2 separate regions of the Homo sapiens genome follow, and region 1 is linked to region 2. The links are contacts of gene promoters, found by promoter capture Hi-C in blood cells and fetal thymus (Javierre and others, 2016). All regions are on one chromosome and are shown on one strand. Each heading gives the region's core, a stretch centred on a gene start or on the middle of the fragment in contact. The rest is flanking DNA. Distances are from core to core; before and after follow the strand shown. Region 1 has its middle 230 kb from the start of LINC01793. Region 2 holds the start of BCL11A (BCL11 transcription factor A).

Evidence for each region. The method cuts DNA at HindIII sites, captures the fragments that hold promoters and counts their contacts. A CHiCAGO score of 5 or more calls a contact.
Region 1: a fragment that was not itself captured here is called in contact with the fragment with the promoter of BCL11A in region 2 in 1 of 17 cell types (total B cells); the score reaches 6.2 in total B cells.

The regions. Positions count from the first base shown.
Region 1 is chr2:59,441,638-59,447,263 of GRCh38, reverse strand. No RefSeq gene overlaps it. Among named protein-coding and RNA genes, the nearest start is that of LINC01793, 230 kb to the right of the region's middle. The HindIII fragment of the contact is 5,851 bases long and covers 1-4,374 here.
Region 2 is chr2:60,549,830-60,555,816 of GRCh38, reverse strand. It overlaps BCL11A (BCL11 transcription factor A), which reads left to right and starts at 2,163. Exons shown (of 4, transcript NM_022893.4): 1 at 2,163-2,601. The coding sequence starts at 2,547. RefSeq lists enhancers at 1-279, 854-903, 4,730-5,502, 5,833-5,882, 5,503-5,987 and silencers at 524-653, 1,594-1,683, 3,093-3,452, 3,973-4,032, 4,093-4,402. The HindIII fragment of the contact is 6,342 bases long and covers 1-5,975 here.

The sequences.
Region 1 (5,626 bases), core at 200-2,699, 1.1 Mb after region 2:
TTTTGTCTGAATAGGAATGTATGTGGTTAAAATTGAGGGTGGTAAACCAGAGCTTTCTGGTTTGCAAATTGGAGGGTTGTTCATATCCTCTTGGTGGCTCCTTCCACGTCTATTTTGTTCAGCTCTGTAATACATTTAAATCAGGTCTTCAGAATCTACATGGGACCAGAGGATCCTTTATTCAGTTCCTCAGTAGTGAAAGGTTGGGAGCAGGCATAGGGACAGGGTTAGGAATAGGTGTCAGGTCATAGAGTTTGACCTGTTAAACTTTGAGCTTACGCATAGAATGCTGCAGAAATTGTAAAATACTTGTTAGAGTAATACAACTTAGAGAGACAGTAATATCCAAGTTAGACATATTTCAAATACAAAGGGAAGAAAGCTACGCAAATTCTATTGGAAATCTTTCTGTAGAACAGAAAAAAATAACTTCTTAAAGTTTGTCATCACCCTTTAATATACATTTCCATCTTTGTTAGACATCTCCGTGTAAAATTAGTGGGTACATCTCAACTCAAACATTGCAAAACAAAGCTCACTCTTTGTGCTACTTCCTATTTCTACCTTCTGACATACTTAAGATCTAATTCCTTATCTGCATGCTGGATTTCACTTAAAGTTATTGTCATTATCCATAGGCAGAACAGAAATCTGAGTCTTTTTCAGGTATTTTATTTCAATGTTATCTCAAGGCCTTCTTGTCCTTCCTACTCAATGTCTCTTTACTCATTTCCTTCCTCAGTTCCCACTGACATTGCCCTAGCTTATTTGTTTATTATCACTGATGGCCACTACTTATTTATGAATCATTTAATCAATGCATTACTTCATTTAAGCTGTCCAACAGTCCTCTAAATCAGGTGATAATATATCCTCACTTTACAGACAAAGAGGGAGGCAGAAAGTCTCAGTGACTTTCCCAGAGTTACTCAGCTAGGAGGCCTTAGTACTGGGATTTGAACTCTGGCACCAAAATGAGGCTGTGAACCGCTAGGCTCTCCCCTTCCAGGCTCCCCACCAGCTATTATAAAACCTTCATAAATGATCTTTCTGATTTCTTTGTCCTGTGTCTCCTATTCCTCTTTATATTTATGCCACAGACTGCTTACAAAACCATGGTTCATACCACAACCTTTAAAACTTCTGGTAGTACCTTCATGCCCATCATTTATTCATTCAGTCATTCATTTATCATTCATTCTGTTATTTCATTTATTCAACACATATTTGTGAATCATACATTATGCACCAGGCAAAATCTAGGCACGGGGGATATGGTAAGATTAAAAAGTCATCCAGAGCTCTTGCCTAGTGAATGATAAGTTAGGAAATAATGATACAACACTATCTTGGCTAGTAGTAAGTACTATGAAGAAAACTAAAGCAGAGTATAGGATAGAGATAGAGAGAGAGAGAGAGGATTTGCTGTTTTAGATGAGATAATTAGGAGAAGCCTCTGCAATAGTTACATTTAAGTATGTGCCCAAGCAACAGGAAGGAGGATGTATTCTAGGCCAACGGGGAAAAGCATTCAAGGAAAAGTGTTAAGCAAGCGCACCGTACTTAAAGCAGGGCTGTGCTCAGCCTGTTCAGGAGCAGCCAGGAGGCCAGGGAGACTGAAGTAGAACAGAGAGCTGAGACAAGAGAATTGAGGGAAGCTGGGGTGCCCTATAAACTAGGGGTAGCCAATCCCTGGGCTCAGGACTGGTACCAGTCCGTGGCCTGTTACAAACCAGGCAGCAGGAGGTGATTGGCTGGACAGCGAGCATTACTGCCTGAGCTCCACCTCCTGTCAGATCAGTGGTGATATTAGATTCTCATAGGCATTAACCCTGTTGTGAACTGTGCATGTGAGGGATCTAGGTTGCACGCTCCTTAGGAGAATCCAATACCTGATGATCTGAGGTGGAACAGTTTCATCCCGAAACTGTCCCCCAACCCCCATTCATGGAAAAATTGTCTTCCATGAAACTGGTCCCTGATTAGAGACTGCTGCTATAGACTATGGTAGTGTCATTGGAATGATATTCCTTTCCCTCTCACTCCTGTATCTATAATTCCAACATCTTCTGAAAAAAGGATGACTTGTCACAATGTGCTGTCTCCAAAATTGGACATGCACCTTACCAGCTCTCTGACTAATCCATTCTGAAGACCCTCTTCACTGACTTCTGAAATCTTCCCATCTTTTAAGGCCTATTTCCAATGCCACAGCCCTAGTTAATTCTCTTATGTCCTACCCTGCTTTAGCTCCCTCCTTAATGAGGAGGGGGAGAAGGAGCAGGAATATCGTGGAAGGCCTCAGGGAGCCGACAGCCTTAAATCAAATCCTAATGTGCGCCTTGCTGGCCAGGTCCTTCAGAGCAAGTGAGGTCACCTTTCCAAGATACAGAGTGGTTTTGCCATTTTAAAAATACATCAGTACAGGAAAAAATCTCATAAGGTTTTTGGAGAAATAAGATTATTTTACATATTGTATAAATCCAATAAATTTCAGATTTAAATTACTTTAAAGGTAATTAGAGTTCTAGGATCTTGGGGCCTTCTTATTTATAACCCTAACAATATGCTCTAGTATTATGCTTCTACCCATGCTTTCCTGGGTTAGACATTAAGCATCTTGAGAACAAGGACCATATCCAGTTTATCATAGTATTTCCACCAGCAGGTGCTAAGAAAATGAGCAAAAATAACTTATTCAAACCAGCAATTTATATATTTCATCTAAAATATTTGTGACACAAATGAGGGGAGGATTTTGTAAAAGCTAAAATTAAGTGGTTTTGTTTTGTTTTTGCAGTGGGGTTGAAATAAAGGGCTTAAAGAAATACAACACACAAAGAATATCTTTATCACCTTAGGGCAGGGAAGAATTTTTGAACAGTATACAACAAGTACCAAACTCTGGGGAAAAAAAAGTGATAAGTTTGATTGCATTAAAATTTAAAATTTTGGTCCGTCAAGTGTGAGTAAAATGACAAGATACAAATTATAAGAAGATATTAATAATATAATGATCAGGAAATAATTTTTTTTTTGAGACTGAGTAGCTATGTCATCAGGCTGGAGTGCAGTGGTGCGATCTCGGCTCACTGCAACCTCTATCTCCTGGGTTCCAACAATTCTCCTGCCTCAGCCTCCTGAGTAGCTGGGATTACAGGCACCCGCCACAATGCCTAGCTAATTGTTGTATTTTTAGTAGAGACGGGGTTTCACCAAGTTGGCCAGGATGGTCTCCATCTCTTGACCTTGTGATCTGCCCGCCTTGGCCTCCCAAAGTGCTGAGATTACAGGCGTGAGACACCGTGCCCAGCCCAGCAAATAATTTTTATACAAAATGTAGAGAAAATGTCTACTAACAGAATGAAAAGAGAACAAAACTACAGAAAAAAAAGGAAAATACAATAAAATAGCAAGTTTACAGGAAGTAGGACACAAATTGGAATAAACAAATGAAAAATGATAATAATTCTTTATAATTTAGGAAATAATGTTACAGACCTTCGTAAGATACATTTTATGCTCATTAGTTTGGAAAAAATTAAGATGTTTGGTAATAACTATTAGTGGTAAGGACACGGACCCTTGAGAATGCATAGACTCTGCTGGTGGAACTAAAACTTGATACAACCATGTTGGAAAATTATTTGATACCAGTATGTGAATTTAAACATTTTCATGCCTGTGGACCAGCAATTCCATGTCCAGTTATGTGAATTAGAGAAAGTCTCACTCTTTAGTCCCAGGAGATATGTACAAGGATGTTCAGGGAAGCATTGATTACTGGAGCAAAAACCTGGGACAAACCCTAATTCCTTCAAGAAGACAATACATTTTATGCCTTTAATTGTGTCCCCTAAAATCCATGTGTTGAAGCCCTGTCACTCAGTGTAACTATATTTGGAGACTGAGGCTTTAAGAAGGAATTAAAATTCAATAAGATCATAAAAGTAGGGCTCTAATCCAACAGGACTGGTTCTTATAAGAAGAGAGAGACACCAGGGGTGTGCCCAGAGGAAAGGCCATGTAAGGACACAACGAGGACAGCTTTCTGAAATCTAGCAAGAAAAAAACCTCACTAGAAACCAACCCTGCCAGAACCTTAATCTTGGACTTCCAGCTTTCAGAACTTTGAGAACATAAATTTCTATTTTTTATGCAACCCAGTCTGCAGTATTTTGTTATGGCAGCTCTAGCAGTCTAATTTGATACATAAATCATTTATGATATATACACAAAATGGAATATTATAAAGCAATGAAAGTGAATAAACAATAGCTGTACCCAGCAAGAATATGAATCCTAAAAACATATTTACTGATCAAATCAAGCCATAAAATACTTTATTCAGTATTATACCATTTTTATAAAGCTTAACGAGAAATAGTTAATATGTAGTATTTTGGTATTATGCACATGTGAACTAAGACTAATTTTTTAAAGTAAGGGAATAATGAACATAAAACTCAGAATAGTGGGAAGATGAGAGTAAGGTGAGGAAGACCTTCATGTAAAAGCAATGGCATTATTAATGTTTTAGTTTTTAAGTCAAATAATGAGTTTACAAATATTCATTTTATATGTTTCAAACTCAATTATAGATAAAAATGACATTGTTTTTAAGTATAAAATGTTATATAAAAGGGAACAATAGCTGGTTTTGGAGAGAAAAAGTGCTTTTTAAATTTCATATGCAATATCTTAATCCATTTGGGCTGTTGTAAGAAAACTCCATAAACTGAGTGGCACAATAAACAAGATCAATTTATTTCTCTCAGTTCTGGAGACCTGTCAGTTCAAGATCAGGTGGCTAGCCGATTGAATGTCTTATGAGGGGCTTCTTTCTTGTTCATTATGGTACCTTCTTGCTATGTCTTCACATAGTGAAAGGGACCAGGGACCTTTCTTAGTCCTCTTTTATAAGGGCACTGATTCCATTCATGAAGGTTGTGCCCTCATGACCTAATCACTGTCCAAAGATTCCACCTTCTAATGCCTTCACTTTAGGGGTTAGGATTTTAACATATATTTTGAGGAGGGAACACAGACATTCAGATCATAGCAACAAATATATGGCCTTCATTTTTTTTACTTGCAGTTAGTTTCTTCTCTTTTTCCTTCACAGCCTTTACCTTCTTCTTCTTTCTATATAACTTGGTTCTTCAGAAACTCTAACATTAGAGAAATAGCCAGCTTCAGTAATTTTTTTGTCATGAAAAATGCCCCACTAGTATAACAGGTAAGTGAGAGTACAATATTCAGAATTGATTCTAGTATAAAATTAATTCTCAGTTACTCATAATATTTAATTTGTATATGCAAAGTATGCCAGTATGCCGAGAAGATAATTGGCTTTTCTCTGAAGTCTCTCTGTCTACATATTAATTTCATCTTCTCTCTCAGACCCACATACTCATTGAAACTCATTGGCATTATCTGTGTGTACTTAGAGGAGTCGCAATATCTATAAGTTTGTCAAACATCATCATATCTGGTCTGTTGGGCAGAATTTGTTTGTGTTATCCCAATTCTATAACCGTACAACATTGAACAACTGCCTTCCTACACTTAATGAATTCTTTTATATTTTACAAGTCACATTCACTGTTGAAGGTTAAATGTTACT
Region 2 (5,987 bases), core at 914-3,413:
AACAAACCACATTGACACAATCCCAGTACAGCCCACATCTCTCTCAATGTTGAGCATCAAAACCTCCTTTTCTTCCTTAGAGGGGTCCGAAGCTCCGCCGAGCTAGGCAAGCCAGTCATTTTCTAACACAGTAGACTTGAAACTTTACTAAGACGAAACAGGAATAAACAGCCGCTTGCCGGCAGGGCTGCGGGATGGGTGAGCGCGTGCAAGCCCGGGGCCCTCGCTTAAAACAATAAAGCCCCCCCACCGGGTGGGTGAGTTTACGGAAGCGACACCCTTTAGACTGAAGAGGGGGATGAGAAGACGGGGGTTGTGGAACCGCTCCGAGGAGAGGGAAGGAGGGCTCCTCGCTCTGCAGACACACTCACACATATCCACCTGCAGCTCAGGGTCTCGCGGGCCATGGCGACCCGTCTCCACCCTGCACCCTCCGCACCTCCCTTGGACCTGAGTCCATTCTCCTCTCCCCCCAACTCCTTCCAGATTTGGAATCGGACTGCGATCTCCCCGGCGGCGGCGGCGGCGGCTGCAGAGTGGTGCTGGCAGGCAGGGAGGCTGGGAGGCGGGAGGCGCCAGGGGACTTTACAGGCACGTTTCTGAATAAACTTTCCAATCGCAGGGGGTGCTGTTGCTGTACATTTTACGTAAAACTGAAAGTATCCCACGCCAGAGTGAAGCCCGCTTTTTGACAGCGGCAGCACGCGCGTGTGTGTGCGTGTGTGCATTAAAGAGACAGGGTTTTATTTCCAACAGGTCTTCCCTAATTTCCAGGGAACGTCTGCAGAAAGGCGAGAGGGGGCTGCTGGCTCCTGGGTGTGCGCCTTGGCCGGCGGCGCCTGGGGAGCGCGGCGGTGACCCGAGGCGGTCATCTCACCACCGTGGTCTCCCCGCTGCTCCTGCGAGCCTGTCGCTCTCTCTCCATTCCCATTTTCTCTTTCCCTGGGTAACAGCACAGGAACAGTTGTGCTCTGCCCGTAAGAAACATTTTCTTCCCATCCCTCTGTGCTTTTGCAGTTGCTCTGGAGTGGGAGGGGGTGTGTCCCTCCCAGGGACCCGGCTCGGGGACCTCCCGCGGCGCCGTGAGCACATTCCCAGGGACTGGGACTCCCGGGACTGCCCGCGCTTTGTCCTCGGCCTCTCAGAGAGGTGGACGCCTCGGTGCCTCTCTTGCCCAGGCCCCCGGCGCTCCCCTCCGGGGGCCAGACTCTGGCTCCTCGTTCTTTATTCCTCGGGCTCTCTTTCTGCGACCCTTAGGAGCCGGGGACTCGGCGCTTTCAGTTGCATTCAGACCCAGTCGCTTGGCGGGGCGCTCAGATTCCCGGTCCCTGGCTCGGCCTTGGGGGCGCCCTCGGGCCCCGGCCTGCGCCGCCTGCCTCTCCCCGGTCCCCTCTTTCCAGGCCGCGCGGGCTCCTGGAGACTTGGGCGCTGCCCTTCCGGACCCGCAGCCCTCCAAACTTAGGCTGGATTCCGCGTTGCCGTGCGCTCCCTCCCACCTCCCCTCGCCCGCTGCGGAGCTGTAACTTGGAGGCTCAGCTCTCAACTTCGGGTGATTTTTCTTTGCTGTCCTCTCCTCGGGCAAAGTTTCCCGAGCGCAGCCGCGGGCTCGGGGCTTTTACTTCGGCCCCTGGCGTCCACACGCGGGGAGCGAGCGCGGCGGCGGCGGGGAGGGGAAGTGGGTGTGCGTACGGAGGAGGGTGTCCGGGAGCAACTCTACCTGGCTTCCCTCCGCCCGCGCTTCCCCAGCCCGGGGCTGCAGCCTCCCGGTGCACTCTCGCTCTATTTTTTTCTTTTTTGAATAATCTTTCATTTTAGAGTCCGCGTGTGTGGGGGGGAGCAGGGCGCACGTCTTGCTCCCCCCCACCCTTTCCTCCCACCCCTGCCACCCCTTTCTTCTCTCCCGGCCACGCCACCGCCGCGGCGCTCGCTGCGGCCACTGGTGAGCCCGCGGCCCCAGCGCCCCCTCCCCTCGGCCCGCCCCTCCCCCGGGGGCCGCGTCTGGCGTCCGCGGAGCCCCCCGCCCCGCACCTCCCCCTCCCCGCACTGGCCATTGGCTTGTCCTGGTCTCTTTTTCATGTCCAGCCCCTGATGTGTGTCCATTGGTGTGAGCTTCCCCTTCCCTCCTCCCCTTCTCTCCTGCTCGCCCTGCCCATGTTTTGTGTGTCTCTGTCCATCCAGACTCCTGACGTTCAAGTTCGCAGGGACGTCACGTCCGCACTTGAACTTGCAGCTCAGGGGGGCTTTTGCCATTTTTTTCATCTCTCTCTCTCTCTCTCCCTCTATCTCTCTTCTCTCTCTCTCCCTCTTTTTTTTTTTTTTTTTTTTTTTTTTTTTGCTTAAAAAAAAGCCATGACGGCTCTCCCACAATTCATCTTCCCTGCGCCATCTTTGTATTATTTCTAATTTATTTTGGATGTCAAAAGGCACTGATGAAGATATTTTCTCTGGAGTCTCCTTCTTTCTAACCCGGCTCTCCCGATGTGAACCGAGCCGTCGTCCGCCCGCCGCCGCCGCCGCCGCCGCCGCCGCCCGCCCCGCAGCCCACCATGTCTCGCCGCAAGCAAGGCAAACCCCAGCACTTAAGCAAACGGGAATTCTCGCGTAAGTAACCCAATAATAGTAATAATAATTATTAATAATCACGAGAGCGCGCAGGACTAGAAGCAAAAGCGAGGGGGAGAGAGGGGTGTGTGCATGCATTTTTAAATTTTTCACGAGAAAAACCTCCGAGAGTCGAGGTAAAAGAGATAAAGGGGGAAAAAACCCTCATCCCATCTGGAACCATTGCCGTGTATGCACTTTTGAGACAGCACGCACCTTTTAATTTTATTTAATTTTACAAAAATTTGACTCCTCCTCTTTCCTCCTTTCCGCCGCTTTATTTCTCTTTTCGAAAAGGAATGCAATGATTCCACTCCCCCCCCGCCCCGCCAGTTTTGCAAAATAATGAACAATGCTAAGGTTGCGAACAACTCACATGCAAACCTGGGGGTGGGAGCTGGTGGGGAAAGGGAGGTTGCTTCCCACTCACCGTAAGAAAATGGGGGGGTAGGGAGGGAGTGAGTACAAGTCTAAAAAACGATTCCCGGGGAGAAAAGAGGTGAGACTGGCTTTTGGACACCAGCGCGCTCACGGTCAAGTGTGCAGCGGGAGGAAAGTAGTCATCCCCACAATAGTGAGAAAGTGGCACTGTGGAAAGGGGCCCCCGGCGCTCCTGAGTCCGCGGAGTCGGGAGAGGGGCCGCGGCGACGGGGAGAGCCGTGGGACCGGGAAGGACGGGAGACGCGGCCGGCACTGCCGCCTTTTGTTCCGGCCAGAGGTGGGTGTTTGTCCCGCTGCCTTTTGTGCCGGCTCCTCGCGCTTGCCCTCCCGCGCCGCCGCCGCCGCCGCCGCCGAAGGGCAGGAGCTAGGGCCGGGGGAGGAGGCGGCCGGGGGCACGCGGGAGAGGGAGGGAGGGAGCCCGGACTGCTGCCTCCTGGGTTGCCGCTGCCCTCCCCTCCCGACCGAACCTCAGAGGCAGCAAGGAGAAGACTGGCACATAAATAAATAAATACATAAAAATAAAATAAATAAAACAAGGCAAGAGAATGTACAATTTCTTGCCCCCAAACCGAAGCCAAACGCTCTGCCAACCCTTTTCTGTGACGGCCTTCTCTTTGACTCCCCCACCAGCCCCCCTGCAAAAATCTCACAATCTCTCATCTAGAAAAAAATTTACAATCACCCTCTTCCCCCAAACCCCTTCAGTTGCAAACTTAGGGCGCCGACGGCACGGAGAGGGAGAGAGGAACTCCCTCCTCTTACTATTTTTTGGAAGATTTTCAAAAAAAGTGGAAGTGGATTTTGATTGGGAAAAATCTCGTGTCTGAATGTTTACAAGCACCGCGTGTGCGGGAGCCTCCTGCCAACAAACAGACAGAGGACCGAGCGCGGCGCGGCAGCCCCGGAGCAGGCGGCGGCGGCGGCCTGGCCTCGCCCGGGCCTTGCCCGACCTCGCCGCGCCCCAGCCCAGCCCCGGATCGCCCACCCGGCGCCCGGCGCCCACCCGCCAGGCACGGCGGCAGGCCACGCAGTGTCTCCGCGCCAGCCTGGCCCGTGGTCCTGGTCCGCCCCCAGCACAATGCCGAGACCTCTTCTCGACCTCCCAGACTGCGAAATCGGCTGGGTGAAACTCGGCTTTGCAAAGCATTTTTATTTTGCAGGGCAACTGTAAAAGCGCGTTCTGCGCCTCCCCTCCCCTCCGCCCTGGGTACTTTCTCAGACGTCTCTTGTCCACAGCTCGGGACCGCGAGGAGGTCACCACGTGCTTTCCCTGCCCACCCCCCACCCCGCCCGGTCTGGTCACCAGTCCCCCTGCGCCCCGAGCACGACTAGGCCAGGTGGCGGGGTTGCCGGGGAAGGGCAGGGGAGAAGTGTGTTTGAGTGTGCATTTTAAGGGCGCTGGATCCTGGGACCCCGAGCACTTCACCCTTTGGGTCTTGCCCTCTTCCCCAGGCCTGGCTTGGTCTGAGGTTCTTGTGAGTCTGTATAAGAGCTGGTGGTGGTGGCTGTCTCCCGCTGACTGCGCCTGGAAAGGCGGGCGGTGGGCACTTAGGAAAGTTTGGCAGCAAGGGAAAGAAAGGCGTGAGGGCCCACATTCCCCCCCTACTCAATTTATGATTCTTACTTTAAATTTTTGATGCAGTTTTAAAGGACCACCTATACTTGGTTCTGTGTTTTTTTAAAGGGGTGGTGGTGGGGGGTGCGCACAGGGAATTTAATTTTTCACTGGGCCCTGGAACTTGTCACACACTTCGGAAGCTCCCCCACCCCGGCACGTTGCGCGGCCCTCCCTCTCCCCACCCCCTCGCATCCCTCCCTCGCCGCTCTCCCCCGCCCCCAACTCCCCCGGCCGCGCCGGATGCGGATCAGACGCGGCGCGCGGCGGTGTGAAGTTACAGCCCGGCCAGGTACCGGCGGGAAGGAAGGGCAGTGTTCGCAGGACTCGGGAAAGTCAGGCCCTTCTTCGGAAGGATGCAGTGGGGGCTCAAAGGACAGACCGGGGCGCGCAGTCCAGGCTGCTCCCTCGTACCCCTCTCCCTCCTGGGTCCATCTTGGGACACTCTAGGCTGGGAGGGTTAGTACCCCCTCCTCCTGTCCCGGGGTTAAAGGGCCAGTTTGGGAGGGGGTGAGGGGGCCACTTCTTTCTGTCCTCATTTTCTGGGTGCTCAGAGGGGGCAGGAGCCATCCCGGTCCTCAGTACCACCCCCCCGCCCCCCGCCTCTGCTATGTGGGCTGAATGAGCCATTCGGTCGCTAGGAGGCAGAACAAGATCAAGAAAGCTCAGCGAACTTGAACCTGTACCAGAGCCTCCCCCACCTCCTGCCCGGCGATTCTCGTCCGGGGAGGAACGAGCTTTGCGAGGGTGGGGGTGGGGGGAAAGAACGGTTAGGCAGAATTCCCTTTCTCTCCCCCATCACCCCGTATGTCTTTGTTCTTCATTTTGACTTTAAAAATGCTTCTGGCCGGGGCCGCGGAGAAGCGACCGGGCGCGCGGCCGACACCCCCGTGCGCGAGCTGAGACCAGCGCGCGCCGGGCTCGGAGCACGGTGCAGTTTTCGCTTTCTTTCGGGGCCGGCATTTTTGGTAGGGAGGAACCGGGAGTGCGCGCTCTAGGGCTTCGGGGCATGGCCGAAGAGGGGGATATGGCAAGTTTGCACTTGGTCTCCAGCCTCACTTCTTCCACCCCCTCACCCCCATGCAAAGCACAGACCTCGGTGGCCTCGGCTGGCTTGCTGGGCGGCTCTGCAGCCCGACACCCCCCCTCTCGCCTCGGAGCTCGGAATCACAACAATAGTAATAGTTATCATCATAATGATGCGGGCAGGCAGCGTCATTAATAATGAATAACCGCAGCCGCCGCCGCGCACACCCAGTGCCCAGAATTGCGGGGGAAATGCATTTGCAGAGATCCCCCAAAGTAAAAAGTGTAAGCTTGTGGACACAGA